Regions from separate parts of the Homo sapiens genome. Here region 1 is linked to region 2. Evidence: promoter capture Hi-C in 16 types of primary human blood cells and fetal thymus (Javierre and others, 2016). All regions are on one chromosome and are shown on one strand. The core of a region is centred on a gene start or on the middle of the fragment in contact, and the rest is flanking DNA. Distances in the headings are between cores, read along the strand shown. Region 1 has its middle 380 kb from the start of DELEC1. Region 2 holds the start of TNFSF15 (TNF superfamily member 15).

Evidence for each region. The method cuts DNA at HindIII sites, captures the fragments that hold promoters and counts their contacts. A CHiCAGO score of 5 or more calls a contact.
Region 1: a fragment that was not itself captured here is called in contact with the fragment with the promoter of TNFSF15 in region 2 in 2 of 17 cell types (M0 macrophages and M1 macrophages); the score reaches 6.3 in M0 macrophages.

Annotation. Positions count from the first base shown.
Region 1 is chr9:115,523,794-115,529,272 of GRCh38, reverse strand. No RefSeq gene overlaps it. Among named protein-coding and RNA genes, the nearest start is that of DELEC1, 380 kb to the right of the region's middle. The HindIII fragment of the contact is 2,493 bases long and covers 92-2,584 here.
Region 2 is chr9:114,802,509-114,808,456 of GRCh38, reverse strand. TNFSF15 (TNF superfamily member 15) reads left to right here and starts at 2,418. Exons shown (of 4, transcript NM_005118.4): 1 at 2,418-2,654. The coding sequence starts at 2,445. The HindIII fragment of the contact is 3,139 bases long and covers 2,199-5,337 here.

The sequences.
Region 1 (5,479 bases), core at 89-2,588, 720 kb before region 2:
GTTAGGATGTTTCTGATGTCATAGAGGTATTAGATGAGAATGATCTCCAATGCCTAAGAAACTGGGGGAGAAGGGGTAATTGGCAAAAGCTTTTATTCTCTCAGAATCTACCTTGTTGCACAGACTCCATAAGAGGCCACAAAACGTAGCATGGGTCAGGGCATACTTCTGTGGAAAGAATGCAGCCACGATGGAATCTCATAGGCCAAGTTTGAATTCTGGCTTCACCACCTGCCAACTCTACCAATTAACACCATCCTTCAGGATTTTAGTCTTCTCAACTCTCAACTGGCATAACAGTGGCTACTTGAGTAGATCACTGACAAGATGATAAATTATTACATAATTTATATATAAAAATGATTACATGATTTATATATAAATGATTACATAATTTATATATAAAAATTATTACTTGTAAATTTGTCTGAGTTCATTGTAGATTCTGGATATTAGCCCTTTGTCAGATGAGTAGGTTGCGAAAATTTTCTCCCATTTTGTAGGTTGCCTGTTCACTCTGATGGTAGTTTCTTTTGCTGTGCAGAAGCTCTTTAGTTTAATTAGATCCCATTTGTCAATTTTGTCTTTTTGCCATTGCTTTTGGTGTTTTGGACATGAAGTCCTTGCCCATGCCTATGTCCTGAATGGTAATGCCTAGGTTTTCTTCTAGGGTTTTTATGGTTTAAGGTCTAACGTTTAAGTCTTTAATCCATCTTGAATTGATTTTTGTATAAGGTGTAAGGAAGGGATCCAGTTTCAGCTTTCTCCATATGGCTAGCCAGTTTTCCCAGCACCATTTATTAAATAGGGAATCCTTTCCCCATTGCTTGTTTTTCTCAGGTTTGTCAAAGATCAGATAGTTGTAGATATGCGGCGTTATTTCTGAAGGCTCTGTTCTGTTCCATTGTTCTATATCTCTGTTTTGGTACCAGTACCATGCTGTTTTGGTTACTGTAGCCTTGTGGTATAGTTTGAAGTCAGGTAGTGTGATGCCTCCAGCTTTGTTCTTTTGGCTTAGGATTGACTTGGTGATGCGGGCTCTTTTTTGGTTCCATCAAAAAGTGGGCGAAGGACATGAACACACACTTCTCAAAAGAAGACATTTATGCAGCCAAAAAACACATGAAAAAATGTTCATCATCACTGGCCATCAGAGAAATGCAAATCAAAACCACAATGAGATACCATCTCACACCAGTTAGAATGGCAATCATTAAAAAGTCAGGAAACAACAGGTGCTGGAGAGGATGTGGAGAAATAGGAACACTTTTACACTGTTGGTGGGACTGTAAACTAGTTCAACCATTGTGGAAGTCAGTGTGGCGATTCCTCAGGGATCTAGAACTAGAAATACCATTTGACCCAGCCATCCCATTACTGGGTCTATACCCAAAGGACTATAAATCATGCTGCTATAAAGACACATGCACACGTATGTTTATTGTGGCATTATTCACAATAGCAAAGACTTGGAACCAACCCAAATGTCCAACAATGATAGACTGGATTAAGAAAATGTGGCACATATACACCATGGAATACTATGCAGCCATAAAAAATGATGAGTTCATGTCCTTTGTAGGGACATGGATGAAATTGGAAATCATCATTCTCAGTAAACTATCGCAAGAACAAAAAACCAAACACCGCATATTCTCACTCATAGGTGGGAATTGAACAATGAGATCCATGGACACAGGAAGGGGAATATCACACTCTGGGGACTGTTGTGGGGTGGGGGGAGGGGGGAGGATAGCATTGGGAGATATACCTAATGCTAGATGACGAGTTAGTGGGTGCAGCGCACCAACATGGCACATGTATACATATGTAACTAACCTGCACAATGTGTACATGTACCCTAAAACTTAAAGTATAATAAAAATTATTACATGATTTATAAATAAAAATTATTACATAATTTATAAATATATATAAATCTCAGCTATTGCTGTATTTCATTTACTATTTTAACAACAATCCTAGGTGCCAACTATATGCCAACTATTTTGCTAGATGCTACAGGAATACTGAACATGGTCTGTGTCTTTAAGTAGTGTGGAAAATAGCTGTATTCTCTATAAAAGAAAGACAGTAGTATTTTAAAATTAAATTCTGATCAAGTCACTCTTCTGTTTAAACTATTTTGAAGATTCCTATTATTCTTAGGATAAAAACCTGAAATCCTTAGTAGGACAATTATGGATAATGTTGCCCTTGCTTAAAAAACTCAGTCTAATCTCAAGCTACCTTTCGCTCTCTCAATTCCAGCTGCCTGTTTATTTCATATAGAGTGTATTTATGGCTATTTGATTAACGTCTATGTCTCATGACATCTTTGCTCTGTTGGGTCAGAAAGTTTTATCTGTTTTGCTACTCACTACATTCCTAAAGCCTGAGCAAAATTTCTGACAGCCAGGAGGTTGTCAAGAAATAGGCTTTTAATAAAAGGAACAATAAATGACAAGTAAAAGCTACAATGGTAGATAAAGTTATCCCATGCAACAGGAGCACAAAGAGAGAAACAGCAAACTCTGCCTCAGGTAGAGGAAGTAGCCTTTGAATATAGTAGAACAAACAAGCTTAGCTTTAAAGCACACCACAGAAGAGTTATCCAAGCAGAGAAGCTTTTTGTTTGTGCAAAAATCCCAGGAGGTACTAATTGTGCAGACCTCATTCTTCACCTATAAAATGAACTACCTGATACCTATTTAAGAGAGGGAAGTTATGAGTATTGGCTGAGATGCATGATGTAAATATGTCTGCCAAATATATATAAGGTGTTGTGATCAGAATCTACCTGTCTCATAAGCCTGGTTTATATTATGGCATTCTTGAAAATAAAAAATAATTAAATAATAATAGTAATAATAATAGTGACAATAATAATAAAAACAAAAAGTAGTGGGAAAGAAGAAGAGGAGAAGGAGGAAGAAGAGGAAGAGAAGGAGAAGGAGGAGGAAGAGAAAGAGGAGGAGGAGGAGAAGGAGGAGAAGGAAAAGAATAATTTTCTTTGTTTATTTTCTACTATGTACCTAGAACTTGATGTACAGTATTTTAATCCTATAAAAACTTTCATAGTAGCTAGTATTTTCTTCATTTCAATGATAGAGAAACTGACTTCCAGAGGTTTTAAATGTCCTTTCCAAAATCATAGAATAATAAGCAATTTATATAAACAGTGAAATTCTAATATCCTGGCCATCAACAATTATTTATTATGTACCTACAGTGGATCAGTCCATCTTTCTATGCTCTAGAAATGCAACTGTATATAAAAAGATAGATATTCTGCCTTCATGAAGCATAGAGTCCACTGGCATAAGCATATTGCAGAGATCCTGATGCTGATTGGTACCACACCATGAGAGGGGCATCTCTTTCCCATACTAAGGGGCATTACTATAGGCAGACAGTGACTCATTTAAGTCTCTATGAATGTCTTGCCACCTCACCTTGATACTAAATATTCTCATATCATGAAGTCAGAGTCATAGGAAAAGGGCAGAATCAGAGGCTAAAATGGCCAATTGGTGAGGTTGTAGCAGAATGACATCTCAGATTCTATTGTCCAGAGCCAGAAAGCAGAAGGGAGCTGGAGTTGGCCCAGACACTTGAGTTCTTGTTCACATCAGTCTGGAATATGTTGATACTCAATAAATATTTGTAAGCTGTCACTGTAAAATTTAGGAGCAGTCATGTGCTGCCAGCACACGAGAGCCCGTTACTTTCCAACTCCACATTCAATAAAATAGATCATGATGAGAGTATTTTTTAAACAGAGAAATCAGCAAATACCATAGATTGGTCCCTGCCCACCACCACCCTGACTTGGTTGGTAAACATTTACCAGCATACCACTGGAGAAAGAGCATCTCTCTCTGAGTCATTGTTTCTCCGTCTTTTCAAGGGGTAGACGATGAAGTGATTTTAAAGCCCCCAGAAAGCTGGATGATATGTTAGAAACAGCAAAGGTCTGGGGCAAGGCATACTTGGATTAAATTATAGATGCTGGCCACACATTGCTCTTGGAACGTTCAGCACGCTATTTGTCTCCCTGAGCCGCAGTTCCCTCCTATGTAGAATGAGGCTATTCACTTCTGCATGATTAGATTTTTCTAGGTGTTAAATATCAACATGGAAAACATGGAAAAATATAGACTCTAATAAGTGTTAGACTCCCCTTATTCCTATCATCTTCACAAATTATAAATAAAAGAATGAGCAAATACATAAATTTTCATTTTTTTCAGAGTTTGTATACCCCTCTTTTGCTTGATTACTTTTAGTTTTTTTGGTGTTATATAATAAATACCCATGATTTACTGCTATTATTATTTATTATCATTATCATTATTATTGTATGCTCTAAATTCCTACTCTATAATGGTAATATTTTTAAAGAATCTTCAAAACATAACTATCTGTAGCCAATTTCCTTTGGAAGGGACAAATAAATATGCATTATTCAGCAGCTACTTGGTAGCAGGCATTGTGCTGGCATGTTACATATTTGGCTCATTAAGCCTTCCAAAAGATAAGAGCGGAGTCTACATCTCAGAGAGAAAACGTTTTCTTTGGACATCATCAGAAGCCCACTTATACCACCAGGGAGCAGTAAAGAGCCACTGTTCAGGATTTTGAAAACTCCAAATCCCCACTACCAGATCACAGCAGTTCTCTTTGGACACAACATAATGGTAAATATTAAGTCTTGGCTGGCCCACCAGTCAGATGAGGGTCAGTGTTGAGGGAAAGGGCCTGTGAGCTAGACCAGCATGTCTGATTTTAGGTACGTAATCCATAGGAGCTTCCAGGAGATTAATAAGCAGGGATGTGGTTTTCCAAGTGATCACGGAGATAATACATTCCTTCCACTGCTTTTTGGAGAAAATGAAACTGAGCCCCAGAGATGGACAAAGACTTATCAAAGCTAGCTTAGTAGGTTGGCAGCAGAGCTAGAGCCAGAACCTGTACACAGTGTCTTCACACTGATACCTGTTGATAAGTAGGCACATACGTTCTGAAATATTCTGATATCACCATTATCCTGTATTGCCAAGGAAGAGACTGTTACCTTTTTTAATGGAAGGTGTTTCCATCCTGGGATTCCCAAGGGGTCTTTGCACATAGTACTTCCACTGGTATTGTTATTAGACAATCTTGAGTTTATTGCTGCTTTATAAAAGATAGCCAGGAACATAGGTAATTACATGTAAGAGAGCTTATCAAAGACAAACTTCAGCATCTTTTTCAGAAATATAATTTTGGTGACCACAGATAAAAGACCTTTTTCATTTTGAACATGGTGCCCAGAAAGGACTCTAGGAGGAGATCCATGCACTCATTCAGTCTTCTTTCTTTAGTGAAATAATAAATAAATCACTAGAGTGCAACTCCGCAGCAGGTTCTAGCTTAGAAACTGTGCATGGATAGAATTAAGGTGTAATGCCTTAATGGTTATAGGTAAGATGTAATT
Region 2 (5,948 bases), core at 1,169-3,668:
TTGTAGATAACTGCTATATTTAGGCAACTGCTTAAATTTTATAGGTAACTGCCATGGTAAAAACATACCATGGTAAAAAACATGGTATGTTTTTACCATGGCAGTTAATTTTACCATGGGAAATTAAACATTTGTTTACCATACAGCCAACAATTTCACTTTGGGCATTTATACCAGAAAAAGTGAAAACATGTTCACACAAAATAATCTGTACACAAATATTCACAACAGCATTATTCATAATAACTCAAAACTGGAAATAACCCAAATGTCCTTCAGTGGGCGAATGATTAAACAAACTGTTGTATATCCGTACCATAGAATGCTACTCAGTCATCAAAAGAAAGGTTAAGTTACAATAGCAAAGATTTAGGTTAATCTCAAAGATGTTTCTTAATAGATTTGTTCAATCCAGAATGAGTAACCATGGGACATCAAAATCATCCTTTGCTAGAATTCTTTGAAAATACGTTAGATGCTTATTTTAGTAGATGGTAATGAGTCTATTGAATAACAGTTAGGAGCAATAGTCATGGGGAAGGGTTATGACTTAGTACCTGCTCTCCCAGACCTGATGGTCTAATTGGGGAGACAGAAGGAATGGTCAAACATAGTCTAGTAGGAGGTATTCAATGATAGGGAAGAAAGGGAAGCTATAGGAACATAGAATATGATCATCTTACCCAATCTTGGAGGCAGGCGGATACAAAAATGGTTTCTACACACAATTAAGGAACAGGAGCATAGAAAAGAAAGGTTAAGTTACAATAGCAGAGATTTAGGTTAGTCTCAAAGACATTTTTTAATAGATTTGTTAAACCAAGAATGAGTAGCCATGGGACATGAAAATCATCCTTTGCTAGAATGAGCATAGGAGCATAGTGATATGAAGGAAGAGGACTGGACACTTCCATTTTGCAACAGTACAGCTAGTCAATAGTGTATCCAGGGAACTGCAGCTTGGGAAAGTAGTAAAAGTTGAGGCTGGACACTGGGGACGGGTGACAGTGAGCAGGGACCAAGCCATGAAAGGCCTTTCCAAGTAGCCTGAAGAGTCCAGGCTGTGACATAACCAGAAGTAGCAACTGGATGGAGGCGCTAGTAAAACTGGTTTCTGCCGTACATCACAGGCCATTCCTTAAACTTTCCTATTATTTCTAGAACCCATCTTTTCCCAGGGTCCTTTACTTTCCTCTGAGATCAACCCTCCCTGAGCTCTAAGGCCGAGTTCCAACACCACCTCTTTCTCCAGGAAGCCCCCTCAACCCCCTCACTGCAGGGTCTTACCCACTCCTGGGTAAAGACAGTGCAGGTATTTATGAACATGCATGATCCAGCAGTACCTATGGTGAAGTGTGATGGTGAAGAAGCCAGCAGCCAGCCTGCCTGAGTCCCAATCCTGGCTCTACCACTTGCCGTCTGTGCTTTATTTTCTTATGTGTAAAATGAGAATGATAGCTTTATTGTCACAAAATTTATCTCAGGATTGAATAATTTTATTGATGTATTTAACTTAGAGCAGTGATTGGCACAAAGTAAGCACTTAATAAATATAATCTTTTATTACATGTTGTGGCCCCCACACCCAACTGCAGGCAAAGCACATCACATGATCAATTAACTTTAGACTAATCAGGGAGTAGTGGTTAATGTTCTACCCTCACAGACAGTCACCTCGATCTGTGGCCTCATACTCTGATTAAACAATGGTCAATGCAGACTGGAAATACTTTCCTTTCATGGGCAGTCATGTGCTAGAGGTTACAACTCCAAGCCGTGATTTAGAACTAGGTCATCTTCCTAGCTCCTCTGTCTTCATCCTTGGATGACCTAGGACAAGTGCCTTCACCTTTTAGAACTTTGCTATTCCCATCTGTACACTGAGAATGAATTTCTATGAGGTTCAAAATGACAGAGGGCTAGGCAGCACTTTGCAAAGAGCTGATGCAAATGTGATTTCCGTTTCCCAATCTGCAAACCACACACCTCTCATCCCTCACTTTCACTTCCAGAAGCACACTCCCCAGACTGGCACAGCTGGTAAGCCTCCAGTGCAGGGAACAGGTATATTTTAATTTGCCCCACCCACTGACTTGATGAATTCTTTCTCTCCTCCTTCAGGGACTTTCCTAACTTCCTTCTGTAAACGAAGGAAGGAGCACATGAGCATACTGTATATAAATATGCTTGGGAAAGCTTTCTTCTTCTCCTTCTTCTTCTTTTTTTTTTTTTTTTTTTTTTCCTCAAACCAAACTTGGTTTCTGTTGTAGGCGGTGCATTCTCTAGCAGGGTAGGGCCACAGTGTGCTCTTGAAGAGGGGAGGGGAGAGGAAAAGGGAAGGAGGAGACTGAGTGATTAAGTCACCCACTGTGAGAGCTGGTCTTCTATTTAATGGGGGCTCTCTCTGCCCAGGAGTCAGAGGTGCCTCCAGGAGCAGCAGGAGCATGGCCGAGGATCTGGGACTGAGCTTTGGGGAAACAGCCAGTGTGGAAATGCTGCCAGAGCACGGCAGCTGCAGGCCCAAGGCCAGGAGCAGCAGCGCACGCTGGGCTCTCACCTGCTGCCTGGTGTTGCTCCCCTTCCTTGCAGGACTCACCACATACCTGCTTGTCAGCCAGCTCCGGGCCCAGGGAGAGGCCTGTGTGCAGTTCCAGGTAAGCCACATGGCACTCTGACCTTGGGGAGGAGCAGTGGACTCTCTGCAGTGAGTGGCAACTATTTCAGCTCTGGACAGAGGATAGAGTTTCTTGATGTATCACATTTCTTGTTTCTACATGCAGAGGAAATGTAGAGTGGGAGGGGTGGAGAGGTTCAATTTGGTGTTTATTCTCAATATTTCTAGGGAATGAACAGTCCCTTCTTTTACTGTGGGGATAACCTTCAGCCTCATATTTTTTAGATAATTATAATCATAGTATACTGGTAATTTGGGAAGATTCTTTTTATTTAAGAAAAAAACTTAAAATTACATAACTAACACGGTCATTGAAAAAAGTTAGAAAATACAGATAAGGAGAGGAAGAAAGTCATCATTACCCATAACTCTTATAGCTGACCACTGTTAACAGTTTGGGATATATAATTCTGTACAGAATTATATGCCAGATATAAAACGGATTTTTTAATGAGACGAGATTATTCTGAGTCTGCTAATATATTATGATTTTATTTATATGCTAATGAATTCACAACAACATGATGCTATAGATACACATTCCTATATGTGGATGCTATAATTTCTTTACCCACTCTTTTTCTTGGGTTTAGAACTTTTTCTCTTTTTAGAGCTTAAGAAAGAACCTCCTGCCTGGTTGTCTATCTCTAAGGTCTTGCTGAGGCCTGGGAGAAGCCTAGTCAGAAAAAGAATATGAAGTCTAGGGAGAACAATGGTAGGGGCAGCGATAGGTGTCAAGAAGAAAACATAATTCTTGGCTGGGAACAACAAAGATGTACCTCAAAACCTAAGGAATGAGTCTTTCCAGTAATATCCTTTTTAAAAATGTCCCTTCATAATCTATGGTGGCTGATTTCATTTCAGTTCAAAGTATTAAATTGCAAAGGGAAAAAAATGGGTTTTCAATGGGTTTAACTGGAAACCTAGCCTCTAAGCAATCCTGGCCAGTTTCAAAGCATAGACACCACAAGTAAGCCATGGAAAATCTGTAATTCTCGCTGCCCCATCAGGGTCAACAAACAGACTGTGATTCAGGCAGCAGCGTTCATGGCCAGATGCCATTGCTCATAAAATGTAGAAATATGCAGACAAACCGGAAATGCTGTTTATGTTAAAGAAGAACCGCAGGTCATGGGAAGTCAGACTTTGACCCTTTGACCACCAAGGGGCCAGTTTCTGCTGGAAGTCAAACTGCAGCGCCCAGTTGGTGCTCTGGGACTCTGTCCCTCTTTAGCCAGAAGGAGATAGTTGTCCTTGAATGAGACACTGAGTGGCCTCCAGAAACCTGCACTGGGGTCTGAAGGAAGCCCAGAGGCATGACAGGTTCCCACGATCAAGATGATGTCTGAGAGCCCTTGGTCAGCAGAAGGCGAGGACTGCCTTTGTCTATCTAGAAGACCAGCAAGCAGAATGTTACAGACCAGGGAGGATCCATGACTTGCCCAGCCAGAAGGTGAGATGGAGACATGCACTGTCACTAGACGGGAAGCTCGGTGAAGGAAGGCACGGGGTCTTTTTTACTCACTGCTACTGCCCCTACCTGAATCTATCACTGTGCCTATCCAATTGCAGATGCTCAAGAAATGAATAAGGCTGACACCATCCATTCCATTATCATTAAATTCATCTTCCTGGAGAGCAGATGTGTGGGGATGATTGCAGCTCTGGTTTGCCCAGGCTCTGTAACTTCTTAGTGTGTCAGAAGAAAAGGAGAGGGAAATGGGGGTGAGGCTGGGCTCATGTAGCAATCAGGGTCCTGAAAAGAAACAGCTGGCTCACTCAAGAAAGTGCATTTGTAGAAGAATATTTAAAGAGTTTGAAGGGATTTAAAGAAGGGCCTCTTTGCTGAGATGCAGACGGATTGAAGGGAACTGAAAGGGCTGGAACATCCAGCACTAGCAACAGTGGGAAACCAGCAACCATGCCTTGGCATGAAGGGCACATGGAGGGAGAAGTGTTAGAGAAACCCAGAGAGAACTAAAGCCTAGGAGAGGGCCTGCCTGGAAGACCTAAGGGCTCTGGGGAGAAAGGCAGTCACTGCCAAAACAGCAGCAAGAGCACAGAAGGAAGGAGGGAATGCTGACTGCTCCCCCATCCCCCACCCTGCCTCCAATCCAATCCCATTGACCAGGCTCAGGAGGAAGCCAGAGCTCAAAGGTCCAGGGGCAACTGAGCCAGGAGTCAGCTTCACAGGACAGAGCAGGGTCAGGAAGGGCTGAGAGAGGATCTGGAGGGACTGATGGAGAAGAAATGGCTCAGAGGAGATGGGAAAAGACTGGATTCAAGGAGGGAAAACCAGGGCACCAAGGAGAACTTGGGTAAACATACAGTGAAATGTGGCTCACTTCCAGCTATGAAAATAGGCATGTGGCTTCATTTCTTTGAGCCTTTTTCCTTTTCTCTGAAGGGGGTATTAATATCAATACTCTGACAGCACCAATAAGGCGTGTGCAGAAGGAGCATTGTGTATGTTAGAAATGTGGGGAGAGCCGCATGCACATGGTGGCTGTGACGTGATCATCACTCTACCCCAGGCACCAGGCAACTACAGAGAAAATTTGATGTTGGCCTCAGGAAATAGGCTATTTCAACAGAGAGGTGCTATGGAATTTCAGATGCTCTCCCGGCCCAGCCACAGAGACAGGGGTGGTTCAGGAAAAGCTTTCTGGAGGAGGGAAGGAAGGCACCTGGGCTAGAAGCTGTGGCTGAGGTCCAGATCACAGACACCATTATGGGTAAAAACCAGTCAGATGATCGCAGGTCATTGGAGATAACAAGGCCTTTGAAGGTCAGCTAGCCTAAAGTGCCTAGTTTTGCACATAGGGACACTGAGGCCCAGGGGATTGAAGAGATTTGCCCAATCCCATACCTCTAGTCGGTGACAGAGCCACAATTTGAAACTGGACCATCTGGCCTCCTTCCCTGTGCATTCAGGCAGCCATATTTGTGCTGTTCCAAGTGCCAGGTGGCCACACCATGGATCAAAGGAAGAAGGAGATCAGTAATACCATGGAGAAAACTATTACCACAACTATACCAGTTACTGAGCCTCACCCCTCTCCCATTGAAGAACTTCAGATGGCAAATCTTATGCCACCCACAGAGTCACCCATCTAGAACTACTGGCCCAGCAGAGAGTAAGGCTACCTGTATTTTTCCAAAGAGAGAATTAAGAATCAGAGAGCTAACACAGCATGCTTACATTACAGAAATACAATTAAAAACAAAATCTGGCCGGGCACAGTGGCTCATGCCTGTAATCCCAGCACTTTGG